Regions from separate parts of the Homo sapiens genome. Here regions 1, 2, 3 and 5 are each linked to region 4. The links are contacts of gene promoters, found by promoter capture Hi-C in blood cells and fetal thymus (Javierre and others, 2016). All regions are on one chromosome and are shown on one strand. The core of a region is centred on a gene start or on the middle of the fragment in contact, and the rest is flanking DNA. Distances in the headings are between cores, read along the strand shown.

The links. The method cuts DNA at HindIII sites, captures the fragments that hold promoters and counts their contacts. A CHiCAGO score of 5 or more calls a contact.
Region 1: a fragment that was not itself captured here is called in contact with the fragment with the promoter of HEXA in region 4 in 14 of 17 cell types (naive CD4 T cells, total B cells, naive CD8 T cells and 11 more); the score reaches 11.3 in naive CD4 T cells.
Region 2: a contact is called between a fragment that was not itself captured here and the fragment with the promoter of HEXA in region 4, in 5 of 17 cell types (M2 macrophages, naive CD8 T cells, M1 macrophages and 2 more). The highest score is 6.2, in M2 macrophages.
Region 3: a contact is called between a fragment that was not itself captured here and the fragment with the promoter of HEXA in region 4, in 9 of 17 cell types (M0 macrophages, M1 macrophages, monocytes and 6 more). The highest score is 7.5, in M0 macrophages.
Region 5: a fragment that was not itself captured here is called in contact with the fragment with the promoter of HEXA in region 4 in 13 of 17 cell types (M0 macrophages, M1 macrophages, monocytes and 10 more); the score reaches 11.9 in M0 macrophages.

What each region holds. Positions count from the first base shown.
Region 1 is chr15:72,529,876-72,532,575 of GRCh38, reverse strand. All of the region lies in intron 2 of ARIH1 (ariadne RBR E3 ubiquitin protein ligase 1), which reads right to left. Among named protein-coding and RNA genes, the nearest start is that of MIR630, 56 kb to the left of the region's middle. The HindIII fragment of the contact is 1,739 bases long and covers 538-2,276 here.
Region 2 is chr15:72,600,151-72,602,850 of GRCh38, reverse strand. ARIH1 (ariadne RBR E3 ubiquitin protein ligase 1) reads right to left here. Exons shown (of 14, transcript NM_005744.5): 14 at 1-2,700. Among named protein-coding and RNA genes, the nearest start is that of MIR630, 14 kb to the right of the region's middle. The HindIII fragment of the contact is 3,132 bases long and covers 1-2,700 here.
Region 3 is chr15:72,547,732-72,550,452 of GRCh38, reverse strand. The region is part of intron 3 of ARIH1 (ariadne RBR E3 ubiquitin protein ligase 1); the gene reads right to left. Among named protein-coding and RNA genes, the nearest start is that of MIR630, 38 kb to the left of the region's middle. The HindIII fragment of the contact is 2,331 bases long and covers 251-2,581 here.
Region 4 is chr15:72,374,584-72,377,283 of GRCh38, reverse strand. It overlaps HEXA (hexosaminidase subunit alpha), which reads left to right and starts at 1,270. Exons shown (of 14, transcript NM_000520.6): 1 at 1,270-1,564. The coding sequence starts at 1,312. HEXA-AS1 (HEXA antisense RNA 1) reads right to left here and starts at 1,171. Exons shown (of 1, transcript NR_027262.1): 1 at 1-1,171. RefSeq lists enhancers at 511-560, 891-1,030, 922-1,478, 1,479-2,034. The HindIII fragment of the contact is 8,315 bases long and covers 1-2,700 here.
Region 5 is chr15:72,566,527-72,569,226 of GRCh38, reverse strand. It overlaps ARIH1 (ariadne RBR E3 ubiquitin protein ligase 1), which reads right to left. Exons shown (of 14, transcript NM_005744.5): 8 at 2,622-2,664; 9 at 2,050-2,121. Among named protein-coding and RNA genes, the nearest start is that of MIR630, 19 kb to the left of the region's middle. The HindIII fragment of the contact is 1,583 bases long and covers 623-2,205 here.

The DNA of each region.
Region 1 (2,700 bases), core at 158-2,657, 160 kb before region 4:
GTTATGATATCTTTATGAAGGCAGAAGATCCTATTTTTCTGTTCTTTAGAATAAGGTTGAAGTTACTGTCATATTAAATGTTATGGTAGAACTTTCCAGTATAACCATTTGAATTTCAACTTTTCTTTATAAGAACATTTTAAATTATGGATTTCATTTCTTTATACTTAATAAGGATACAGGTTTACTATTTCTTATGTCAGTTTTGGGAAATTGCCTATTTCTAGGAATCTACCCATTTCGTCTATCAAGTTTGAATAGTTGTCCATAATTTTAAGAGTTTTTTTTTAAACCATCCACAAGATCCTAGTGATACTCTGTTTTCATTCCTAATACTGGTTATTTAGGATCTCTCTTTTTCCTAACCTCATCAAAGTGTCAACGTTATCAGTCTTAAAAAAAAAAAAAAATCTTACGGCTTCTTGATCCCTTCTACTGCATGTTTTCTATTTTATTATATTCTGTTCTTTATTTCTTTCCTTGTATTTTCCCTATATTTATTTTGTTGTTCTTTTCCTAACTTGAGACCTCTAAGCTTATTACTTGAGACTTTTAAGATGAATGCTTAGCTCATTATGCATTTAAGGTTATAAATTCCAAAGTACAACATTCTGCAAGATTTTTCCCTTTAACAGACAAATAGTTGCTTAAATAACAATTATGAGTATTTGAAACTTCAATCAACACTGGCAGAACAAAATGTTGGTTGGCTTTAAAAAGATACAAAAGCTAGGTACAACATAAAACCATTTATATTAATTAAAACATACTGTTTATGAATATATTTTCCATGAACATAGTATTCTAGGTAAGGTTTATTTTCTTTCAAAAGACTGAGGTATCATCTTACTATCACTTTCACTGTTGCTGTTGAGCTGTGCTCTAGAATATTATTATACCTATACTTTCACTCTTTTGAAAGCAGCCTTTCTTGTATCTCATTGATTTAGATTTTTTATTTTTGCTGATTTTGTAGTTTTACTAAGATGTTTTTAAATGTGGATTTCTGGTCAGGCCCAGTGGCTCACCCCTATAATACCAGCACTTTGGGAGGCTGAGGCAGGCACATCACCTGAGGTCAGGAGTTCGAGACCAGCCTGGCCAACGTGGCGAAACCCCATCTCTACTAAAAATACTAAAGTTAACCAGGCCTAGTGGCTCGTGCCTGTAATTCCAGGTACTCAGAAAGCTGAGGCCCTAGAATGCCTTGAACCCGGGAGGTGCAAGCTGCACTGAGCTGAGACTGTGCCACTGCACTCCAGCCTGGACAACAGAATGAAACTGTGTTTCAATAAATAAATAAATAAATAAATAAATAAAAATGTGGATTTCTTTTTACCATATTTCATAAAATCTAAAATGCTTTCGTGCTGAAATTTCATGATCTTAACAGAAGTTGACATGGAAAATTTTTCACGAGTCAAAATTTCAATCTTTTTGGACTGTAAGGTGTCAATAATTGAAAGATGCATCCAGATTTCAGATGTTAAAATGTGAAAAACTGTGTATCTTAGGATCAGTGAAACAAGTAGCTATCACACATGGGAACTGTTATGTTTCTTCAATCTATGACATTTGGGTCTTTTACCAATCTGCAAAATTCTCAGTCATTTTTATCTTAAAATACTGCCTCTGCCACATTCTCTCCTCTCTTTCTAAAACTCAATGAGACCTTCTCATTATATCCTCTGTATTTCTTAATCTCTTCTGTATTTTCCATCTTTTAATGGATATACTTAATTCTGGATCATTGTTTGATTTTCAAATACACTAAACTCTCTTCAGCTTTGTCCAGTCTGCTGTTAAACTATGTCACAAAGTTAATTTTGCTTATTTTGTTTAGTTATAAAAATTCTGATTTTTTTCCAAATCTGAATGACAGCTCCCTGGTGATAGCATACTCATTTTGGTCTAGGTCTGACAATTCCAGTATCTTAAGTTCCAGGTTGTTATGTTTTAATTAGAAAAATAATTTGAGAAAATAGTTTAAGGTCTTAAATAATGTTATTTCCCTAGAGAAGATTTACGTTTGTTTCTGTTATATACGGGGGCTATCTTAACCCAAGTTCAAGGTTTAAGGTTTTCTGGACTACCCAAAAGACATGAAGATCATCTTCAGTCTTTAAGGAGCTAGTGTATTCAATTTTCGCTCTTAGTAGACCTAATATTCCAACTTCCCCCTCTACTAACAAAGGGCAAACAAAACTCACAGCTAAGTCTCTTAGCTACCTCTTCTGGATCAACATACACTGCTAGAGCAACAAGGACTGGAAGCTTGTTTCTCTAAATTTCCCTTGATTCCCAAACTCTCAACCTTGAACCTCTATTTCCTATCTTACTAATTATTTGATAATCTTACTTTTCAAACATGTTTCAGTATTTCACCTAGCCTCTTCTAGTGTATTTAGTGAAAGGAACGGTCAAAATTACCAGAAGTTTCCCAGAGTCTCCTATATTTTGTCTCAGTTAAAACTAATTTTACTTCTCTTTCCATCTACCCTCTGCTATCAATTTAGCTGTCACTATTGTAAGTCAGGACAATATTTTCCTTTTACCTGGATAGTTAAAACAGCTCATTTATTACTAGATTTTTTTCTGAAATAATGCTTTTCCATCACTATTTCTCCATAAAACAACGTTCAAGGGCTTCCCAATAAAGACAGAAAAATTCCAAATTCACTTACTTAAAATTCAAGGCCC
Region 2 (2,700 bases), core at 103-2,602, 230 kb before region 4:
TTTGGGTTGGAGAAACTCCTTGAAAGTTAATTTGGGGGAGAAGGAGAGTCCTTGAGGGACCAGGGTAAGGTCAGAACGTTTCCTGGGAGAAAGGGGGAACATTTCTCTGGCTAATAAGGGCACAGTGCCGGACAGGGTGAAGAAGAAAAAGTCAGTCAAGAGTGGTACATTTCAGAGCATGAAAGGCCTCACACTGCATAAAATAGACTACACCTTAAGACTTCCAATTTTCAGTAAGACTCTTAGGCCCATATAAAATTCAGGAGCCTGTGGATTTTTTGGTGTGGAAACCACTGAAGAGGCAGATTGTACATCTAAATTGCAAGGGCGAGACTTAAGTATGAATTGGGAATTTAGAGTGTAGCAAATTAGTCAGACATTAGATAATAAGTAAGCAAAGTTTATGAACAATTCACCAAGAAATACAAATGGCTCTTTAACATATGAAAATATAACTGTGCAAGGAAAAAAAACATGCAAATTAGTTTCCAAGAGATACTTTCCATTTCTTGCATTGGCAAAGAACAAAAATTTCACTGACATAATTGTGAGGACAAATGCATTCACTAGTGGGAATTCATAAAACTTCCATTGAGAGCAGTTTGGCAATAACTACCAAAATTAAAAATGCACATAATCTTTAACTGAATTATTTCAATTCTAGTAATTTATTCTATAGGCATAGATGTGGGAAATGACTTTACATACAAAGGTATTCAATGCAGCATTATTTGTAATAACCAATGCCTAAAACCAACCTAGATAGAGGTTAAATAAATTATAAGTCCATATTATATGGCGCATGAAAAAGAAAGAGGCAACTATTTACATATTAATATTGAATAATTGCCAAGATATATTATTAACAGATAAAGTGCAGAAAATGCATATAGTATCTGTATTAATAAAAAGGCAAAAATAAAGAGGAATATTATATACATAATTGCTTGTATACTTAGAAAATATTTCTGGAAGGATATTCAAAATGCTAAAAGTGGTTCTAAAGAGGAGAACTGGGTAGCGGGGGGACAGGGAAGAGAAGACTTTTTACTCTATACCTTTAATACATTTTGAATTTTGTACTATATGGATGTATTACCTACTCCAATAATAGCGACTAAGAAAGTGAAAAGCACAACATACCAAGAATTGTGATAAATGCTAAGAAGGAGAAATATAGAACAGTTAGAACAAACAATGGGGAGCCAATCTAGACTTGTTTGGACAGGGAAATTTTTCCTGGGTAAGAGATGTTTAAAATGAGACCTAAAGGGTAAGGCATTAGCTTAGGGAAAGGGGATGAAGACATGTGCAGGCCAGGAAAGAATTCTAAGGCAAAGGAAGAACTTGTGCAAAGGCCCTGAGGATGGAAGAATCTCAGCCAGTTTGCAGCACAGAATGAAGACCAGTGTGAAAAGAGAAAAAGGTAACAGGGTTGGTTGCAATAGGAGAAGAGGTAGGAGTGCAGATCCACAAAGGCCATATGAGGAATTTTATTTTAAGGGCATTGGGAAGGCACTAGAGAATTTTGAGCAAGGAATGGCATGGTCAGAATGAACACTTAATAAACTCATGTTAGCTCATGAGTAGAGACTGAATTGGGAGGGGGACAAAAATTGATAATCTAGGGTAAACTAAAGGATGCTGCAAATGAGATGATGAAACACTTCACTTGGACTAGTGTGATGGCAAAGGAGATGGAGAAAAAGTAAATGGGTTCTCAAGTTTAGAGGTGGAAAAACCTCCAATACACATGATTGGATATGGGGGAATGAGGGAAAGGGAAATGGATGTTAAAGGAAGATTGCCAGGTTTCTTACTTTGAAAGCTGCTGGATGAGTGGTACAGCCAATTACTGAAATGGGAAGACTTAAGGACAAAGATGTTTGTAGAAAGCTCATGAGGCTGTTTCCCAATATGTGAAATCTCCCTGAAAGGGGTCCTGTGAGGAGCAAATGACATTCTTTATTCAATAACTAGAAGCCATTGCTATAATGTTTCAAAATCTCTCCTTTGACCTCAGATCTTGTGAGGAAGATAGAACACTTTCTGTACCAGGGCCTTTTTCAATAAGAAAGGACATTGGTTTCTCAAATTGCAATCACTAAACCTAATGTACTTTAATTATATACATAATTAGAACAATCTCTTTTTAAAAAAACATAATAGGTTGGATACTATGGTTCACACCTGTAATCCCAACACTTTGAGATGCTGAGGCAGGAGGATTGCTTGAGCCCAGGAGTTCAATACCAGCCTGAGCAACATAGTGAGACCCGTCTCTACAAAAAATTTTAAAATGAGCCTGGCATGATGGCATGTGTCTGTAGTCCTAGCTACTTGGGAGACTGAGGAGAGAGGCTCTCCTGAGCCCAGGAGCTCAAGGTTGCAGTGAGCTATGATTGCACCACTGAACTCCAGCCTGGGTGACAGAGTGAGATCCACTGTAAAACAAACAAACAAGAAGTATGTTCACAGGAAAATCCCAGAAATCACATAGAACATGTTTCTTGTGTCACAGATGGATCTTCATTTCCCTTAGCAAATCTCCTCAAATGTGACCCTGCTTATCAAGATTATTCAAATCATATAGCTGTGCTGGGCATACAAAAAAAATGGCATTTATCTATTTTTATGGTGGGGGCTGAGGACATAGAAGAGGAATCAGGCATCGGTAACTTTTCAACACCCCCAATATAT
Region 3 (2,721 bases), core at 167-2,666, 170 kb before region 4:
AAATGTTTTATTCAAAACTTAAAAACATATACACATGCTTATATGTGCTTCATTCTTTTTTCAAGTAGGAATCCTTAACAGAGATCAACGGTCACAATGGTTACTAAGTGATCACTTTAAGTCTCAACCTTTTTTGACTTCTAGTCTAGAGCTCATTTTAAGATAAAAAGATAGTTCATAAATGTAATCACACTCGTGTGAGATGCACCTCTCTCAACCTTGTTACAACTTCAGCACACAGATAAAAGCTTTTTATTCTTTTTAAATAACTTCTCTAATCAGATAACAAGATTAAACAAGTTAGAAAAATAAATCATACATGGATGTCTAAAGATAGAGCAAAAAAATAAAAACACCAAAAACCAAGACACAAATCTGTAGTCTAAAGATACATATTCATTGTGCTTTCGAGGAACATATTATTATCGCAGATATCTTCCTGTCTGTCTTACTTCCCTTTCCCTCTCCCTCCTCTGATATATTCGTTTCCTCATAACCTTGAGCTAGGTTCACCTACATGGCTCCCTGGGCTTTCCCCTGTCCCAGGGGATCATATTATCTATTCACTAAACTTATCCCTGTTTATATCACAAATACATCCGATCAAGAGAGTACACGAAAAATACATGAAATATTATCTACAAAAGAAATTAATGGACTTAAAGAAACTTAAGAATACACTCTTAAAGGTTTCATTTATCTGCATCACTTTACATACACAGCAACTAATGTCAAATAGCAGTAAGAAAATTAAGAATCTTTCTTCCATAATAAGTTGTCCATATAACCTCTAAAATTGAAACCCCTTTGTTTATAAAAATTGAACAAATGACCTGGGAATCGGTTCCCTTGTGTGTAAAATGTAATGTGTTAAAAGGAAAATAGGGTGGGACGTAGGTATTTTCAAGCAGTTTCCAGCAGCACCAAGATTCCACAGAGGGGCTTCAGGAATGGGGGACGGGATGGTGGACCACCCTTCCTCACAATTTCAACTCTGCCTTTACCTACTTCACATATCTTATTCTTAGAAAATACAAATTATTTACTTCATAAAAATGAGACACTGGCTGGCCGTGGCGGCTCACTCCTGTAATCCCAGCACTTTGGGAGGTCAAGGTGGGTGGATCACCTTAAGTCAGGAGTTGGAGACCAGCCTGGACAACATGGTGGAACCCCATGTCTACTAAAAATACAAAAATTAGACAGGTGTGGTGGTGGGCGGCTGTAATCCCAGCTACTCGGGAGGCTGAGGCAGGAGAATCGCTTGAAACTGCGGGGTGGAGGTTGCAGTGAGCCGAGAACATGCCACTGCACTCCAGCCTGGGCGACAGAGCAAGGCTCTGCCTCAAAAAAAAAAAAAAAAAGAGAGAGAGAGACGCTGTAGTCGAAGCTACATTTCCTAGCACAGTGGTGGGCCAGTACAGCTATTATCTTAACTACTTTAACCTAAAACATTAAGTTGGAATCTATGAATTTACAAAGTGCTCCAATGTCTCAGGACATTGTTTTGAAAGAAGCAGCCACTCAGGACAGTTAACTCCAAAGGGTTGTAAACTAAGCTATCAAAAGCACTTATTTTAAAATGTGCATGTGACACTGCATAAAGCAAAAATTGCTTTCTGGAAGGATAAAGATACTGAAGATATATATAATAAAAAAGTACAAATGCTTGGAGAGTAGTAAAATGTGGGAGTTATACAATGTAAGTGAAGAACTCACTCATCCAATAATAAAACTTTATGAAGAGTTTCAGGTGACATTTACTTCCAAAACTGAAGAGGTTAAAATTATCCTTCTATATGAGTCTAAAAATTATGAGGAAAGGACATCCTAGTTTTGTCATGATACTTTTCGGAACACTTAGCAGTTTCCATAATGCCTTACCTTACTTGCCAACCCATGTTGTTCCTTTTGCTATCTTATCCTATCACTTGCATAGTGAAATTTCTTGTAAAAGAGTAATTTCATTACATTTATTGCTTCCATTTCCTTTCCCACCTTCAAGTCAGTGACTCTTTAGCCCATGAAGTCTGGTTTCCCATCCTACCTCACTCCTTCATTTCATTTCAAATTAACTTTTTAAATCTTTTCTCTGAATCTTTTAGTACTATTTACCATCCCCCAGTTCTTGAAAGTACATTCTCTCTTCCTTGGACTTGCTACATTTTCCTCCTTAGCCTAACTACCATGCCTTCAGATGTTAGTTCAGATTTCTGTGGTAAGTCCTGCCTGATCAAAAACTGGGTTAGGTATCCCTCCAACACGTTCCCACAGTATCGTATCTTATATTTGCCCTACCAAAGCACTTACCACTCTTTCTGAATATGTCACCTTACTACTTATCTACCCAACTAACCTGCAAATTATCTGGTTAGGAATTATGTATTTATTCTCCATTGTTTCTTAGAATAGTGCCTAGTGTGTTCAATGAATAGGTTTCTCCATCATCAGTTACAAGTACAAAACAAAAATTTACACTGTAAATCTCAAGTCATGATTTTGAATTCTAGTTTGTTGAGATTGTTAGACCATATTAAGAACAGCGAGAAAGTTATAGTGGATATTTGGAAGCAGCCAAGCTTCAGTACTCAAATCAGAGTTAAGATTTAAGTTAAGAAGGAACTGTCTATGATAGGGCAGGAGGAAAAACGCCAAGAAGTAAGGAAACCTTGTAAAACCTGGGTCTTAGTATTACCTCACAGAAACATTTAACTGTAAGCA
Region 4 (2,700 bases), core at 21-2,520:
TCAGCCTCCTGAATAGCTGGGAGTAGCTGGGACTACAGGGATGTGTTATCATGCCCAGTGAAAGCCCTTTATTTTTAAAAGTTCATTTTCCTGATCTTTACATGTATTTTAATACTAAAATTAAATTTAAAAATTTTAAAAAGTACCTACTAACCAAATAATGCCACCCAATAACAATAGCATTATTTGTATTATGTTCTGGTAATATAGTGGTGAACAAGGAAGACAGGGTCTCTGATAACTGTGGAATTCTCCTTGATCACTTCTCAAGCCTCTCTTCCGGATACTATTTCTTGGATCTACAGCTGTCTTCCTTCCCCACTTCTGTAGTTCAGTCTCTCATTATTCTCTACCTCCAATAAAAAGGGGCCTCCTAACTGGTTTCTTATGCAACTACTCAACATGGTATTTCTAAAATGCAGATCTTTCGGGATGATTTTCAATTGCTCAGAGAATAAATTCCTTGACTTTCTACGTAAGGCCCTGCAGGACCAGGCCCCTGTCATTATCTCTGAGCACTCTCCATCTTGCACCCAAAGCCCCAGCAATATCTTACTGCTTTCAGTAAATACACACCGGGCTATGTGGGGTTTTGTCTGGGGAAAGGGGATGTGAGTTGTAACTAAGAGATTTATAGTCAATCTTGAAGGGAAGAGCTCATATTGGAGGCAATGGAATGCCTCAAGCTGGCTCTGAAAGTACACATTTTTTCCAGTCATAAGTAGATCACATTTGTGTGATCTTGTGATCCTCTCTCTAGCAGAGCCGTGCAGACTACCTACTTCCGGCCCTTTCTTGCCCCACGAAATTTCACATCACAACGACTTGTGGTTTTAATCCTCCGTTTTTCTGCTTCTGAAGTTACTTCAGCCTGGCAAGTCCTTTACCTCCCCGTAGGCCTGGCGAGCTGCATCACAACATTCAAGATTCACCCTAGAGCCATCTGGGAAACTTTCTTCTCCAGGTCGCCCTGCGTCCTCGCCTCCCCACCCCGTTCTTCTCGAGTCGGGTGAGCTGTCTAGTTCCATCACGGCCGGCACGGCCGCAGGGGTGGCCGGTTATTTACTGCTCTACTGGGCCCGTGAACAGTCTGGCGAGCCGAGCAGTTGCCGACGCCCGGCACAATCCGCTGCACGTAGCAGGAGCCTCAGGTCCAGGCCGGAAGTGAAAGGGCAGGGTGTGGGTCCTCCTGGGGTCGCAGGCGCAGAGCCGCCTCTGGTCACGTGATTCGCCGATAAGTCACGGGGGCGCCGCTCACCTGACCAGGGTCTCACGTGGCCAGCCCCCTCCGAGAGGGGAGACCAGCGGGCCATGACAAGCTCCAGGCTTTGGTTTTCGCTGCTGCTGGCGGCAGCGTTCGCAGGACGGGCGACGGCCCTCTGGCCCTGGCCTCAGAACTTCCAAACCTCCGACCAGCGCTACGTCCTTTACCCGAACAACTTTCAATTCCAGTACGATGTCAGCTCGGCCGCGCAGCCCGGCTGCTCAGTCCTCGACGAGGCCTTCCAGCGCTATCGTGACCTGCTTTTCGGTTCCGGGTCTTGGCCCCGTCCTTACCTCACAGGTGAGTCGGACTTGTCCCGCCCTGTTCCTGGGCCCTGAGAGTGCCTGCCTGGGGACAGTTCCCCCAGGGCTCCAGAGACGCCCTATGGGCTTTTGTCCAGCCCTCTGATCACAGGCACTCCACTTCCTCCTCGAGCTGCATTAGGTTTTCATCCAAAGATAACTACTATAGGACTACGGTTCAATCAGGAGATTAATTTATGGAAAATACTGTGCCAGCAGAAATCTAAGGTGATCCTTCTGACCGTGTTCAAGCTAGCCAGGGTCCTAGTGAGACTGTGAGCAAGGGCTGAGTAGAGACCAGAGAAAACACTCAAAATTGGGGAGACATAATACAAGAACTATGCAAAGTTACATACAAGTTTCTGGCACATAGAATGTTTGGCGGGCGGATCACGAGGTCAGGAGTTCGAGACCAGCCCGGCCAACATAGTGAAACCCCGTCTCTACCAAAAACACAAAAAATTAGCCAGGCGTGGCGGCGCGCGCCTGTAGTCCCAGCTACTCGGGATGCTGAGGCAGGAGAATCGGTTGAACCCATGAGGTGGAGGTTGTGGTGAGCTGAGATCGCGCCACTGCACTCCAGCCTGGGCAACAGAGCAAGACTCCCTCTCAGAAAAACAACCCCCCCCCCCAAACAAAACAAAACAAAACAAAAAAAGTGTAAATTGTGAAAGAAATCATAGAACATAAGGAAGTGAGTTTCCAGCGGCCACTTGGAATGGGATGGTAGATGTAATTAGCCGGGACTGAAAAGAGGGTATTCCAGGCAGGAAGAAGGGCTTGAGCAGAGGCACAAAGAATTATGATTGAGTTCAAAGTTCAGGTCTAGTGGATGTGATGAGTGGGGGCTGGGGATTGAGGAGGGATGAGGGTGGGGAAAATGTGGGGTTGAAGAGTCAAGAGCGCTTTAGACATTGGTTTCACATAAAATGGAAGGGGCTAACAGTTTTCTTTTAGGCAGCTATGTAATCAGTACTGAAAATTGTATTTGAGGATAATTATTCCACAGCACATTTGTAAGTCGAGCCAACAATGTAAAGGAATACAATTCTGCTGCATGGGTTCAAAATTTAGAAGTTTCTTGATAATCTGGAATCTAGCTCTTTGGTTATATTGTATAGATGTTATGGGGGT
Region 5 (2,700 bases), core at 165-2,664, 190 kb before region 4:
AAGTCATCCTCCTGCCTCAGTCTCCCAAGTAGTGGGACTACAGGTGCATGCCACCATGCTCGGCTAATTTTTGAATTTTTTGTTGAGGTGGGGTTTCACCATGTTGCCCAGGTTGGTCTCAATCTCTCAAGCTCAAGCAATCTGCCTACCTCGGCCTCCCAAAGTGTTAGGATTACAGGTGTGAGCCACTGCACCTGGCCTCATATCATATTCTTGGTTGCTAGTAAGCCAAAATTACTGCTCTGTAGGCCTATGGATTTTTTGTTTTTGCATTTGTGATTGAGGTTTGTAACTCTCCCAAGGAGGGATCACCCACTATATTAGTATTTGCACAATTTGGCCTTCTTTGTGAAATTGACTATGCTGCCCATCAATGATAGCAATTTAAAATAGGCCAATATAGCAACTTTTTAATTATATATTTCAAATCAAATTTTTGAAATCACCCACATAAGAAATTTTACATTTTTTCCAAACAAGCAAATTTCAGGCATAAAATATGCGTCATTCTACATTCTACATTTCTTGGTTATAATTAACCTAATAGTATTAAACCTCCAAAATGTTAGGATATCACTGACAATATGCATATCTGTTTAGGGAGCTAATAATCTTAAAAGCTTCTAAAACCTCAAGAGAAAAACTCTTCAGTTTTCTCTCAAAAATACTGAGCAGCTAAATTTGTTTTACAAATTGCCATTCTTCCTTGGTAATCTACAATCTAAACTAAGCCAAACATATTCAAGCCTGTACTCCCTATTTTAAACATCTTTGGGGCTTACAAGTAGGAATTTCTCTAGATGTAGAAAAAAGGCTACCATTTAATTAAACAATTTAGTGAAAATATAATTGCCTTATTCTAAATATTAGTTTTTCAGAGCATATTAAAGAATTCTGGGACTTAAGGAACATTTCTTGTGGGAAAATCTTCAATTTTCAAAAAAAGAATGCTTGGCTAAGAATTTTTTTTTAATAACAAAACAAGTAACCACTTTCTGACATTACAGTATATTTATAGTAAGGTTTTCTTTGATTGACGTGAGTTATGCTTATCGTGATGGTTTTGGAGGGAACAAAAAATATTAATTTCTACCATATATTCCTTAAAGACTTGGGCATTTGTTTTATGTGGCAAGATTCACTGTTTCACTACTTTCTGGGAGACAGAAATATAAATTCATGTTTTATATATAAGTATGTAAGATGTATATTTAAACACACACAGACAACCTGCGTCGGCCTTCATTGTTTACACACTTCTTAATCTCATTGTCCTGTGATGACTGAGGCAACAGTTCAAAGATAGCTTTATATACTATGGGTCAAACAACTCAGCATTCTTTAAAGCATCATCTTTACATGTACAAAATAATACTAAAAATGAATAGCCCATGAACCAACCTACCATTCATTACCCAAGTCACTCACTATGGGGATAGGATAGGACTGAATTACATAAAGGATGGATAATACGACTTTGTATTAAAAGACTAGCTGGGTACACGGTTGGCATTCAAATGCTTGCTCATTAGATTAGTGATCGAGGAGAAGGGTACTCAAGATTTAAACACTTCTAAGACATTTGTCTGGGGTTAAGAAAGTGAATTTTGAAATTGAATTTTGAAACTAGTATCAAGAGCAATGTACTTCAAAACAAAAAATTAGAAACAAAAATGTAAATTAGCCTAACAGAACCAAGCTAGGCGGAGTAAACTCCAATGCATTTGTATACTAAATGGCAGCCAAGCACAAATCCCACACTTGAAAAATTATCAGCTTTTTCCTCTACAGAACACTAATTTTTTTTCCAGTAGAAGAAACCTAAGGCAGAGAACTGTGGATGCTGTACTACAGTACTCAATACTCTAAAATAAACTCAAAGAGAAAAAGGAAATAACAGGCAAACATTCTGGGAAAAAAAAAAAAAGACTCAATGGAGAAAAAGATGAAACAAAGCCTGTAAGTAGGTCACCTCATTGCTTTTGCTAATGCCAAAGTACCAATCCTTATCATTTTTATTACCAAGAGTTACTGAAGGAAAACACCAACCTTTGTGTTGGCTGCAATCCAATTGGAGGTTTCACTGTCATCATCACACTTTTTAATCCATTTCTTTAACCACTGTTTGAAAATAACAACGGTTAGGATACAACAAAAGACTTTTAAAAATAGCAAATTACTTTAGCACTTAACTATAGTCAAGCTTAAATGTAAAAGCCAATGAATAAGATTATCACTAGGCTCACATCCTCTTAAGCCAGGGAAATCCCATAGCTACAATGTCCAGTATATATAAAATCAACCAAAGCAGGATTTTCTTTGGCAGAAGCTGAGTGGGGAACCTAGAGCTTGAAGAGAAGCCCAACTGCAAGGTGTGTATTCCCCTAATTACAAAGCCTGACAAAGAGGTGCCTTAGCCATGGTTATCCTAATAACAATCAGGAGCTGACTTGGCTTATCCTAAGGAATTACCTCTGAATACATGTAATGATCATCTGAAATTAAAAGGATAAAAAAAAATCTATCAATAGATAGATAACAAAATCATCAGCTATGATTTTTAGTCACTAAGTCTTAGAAGTGTGCCATTATTTAAAAATTGAAATGTCAGACAAACTCACCTTACATTTAACAGGATCATGCCAATTTTCTCCACAGTTAAAGCTGTTAAGTGACACAAAGAGTTAATAGAATTAAGGC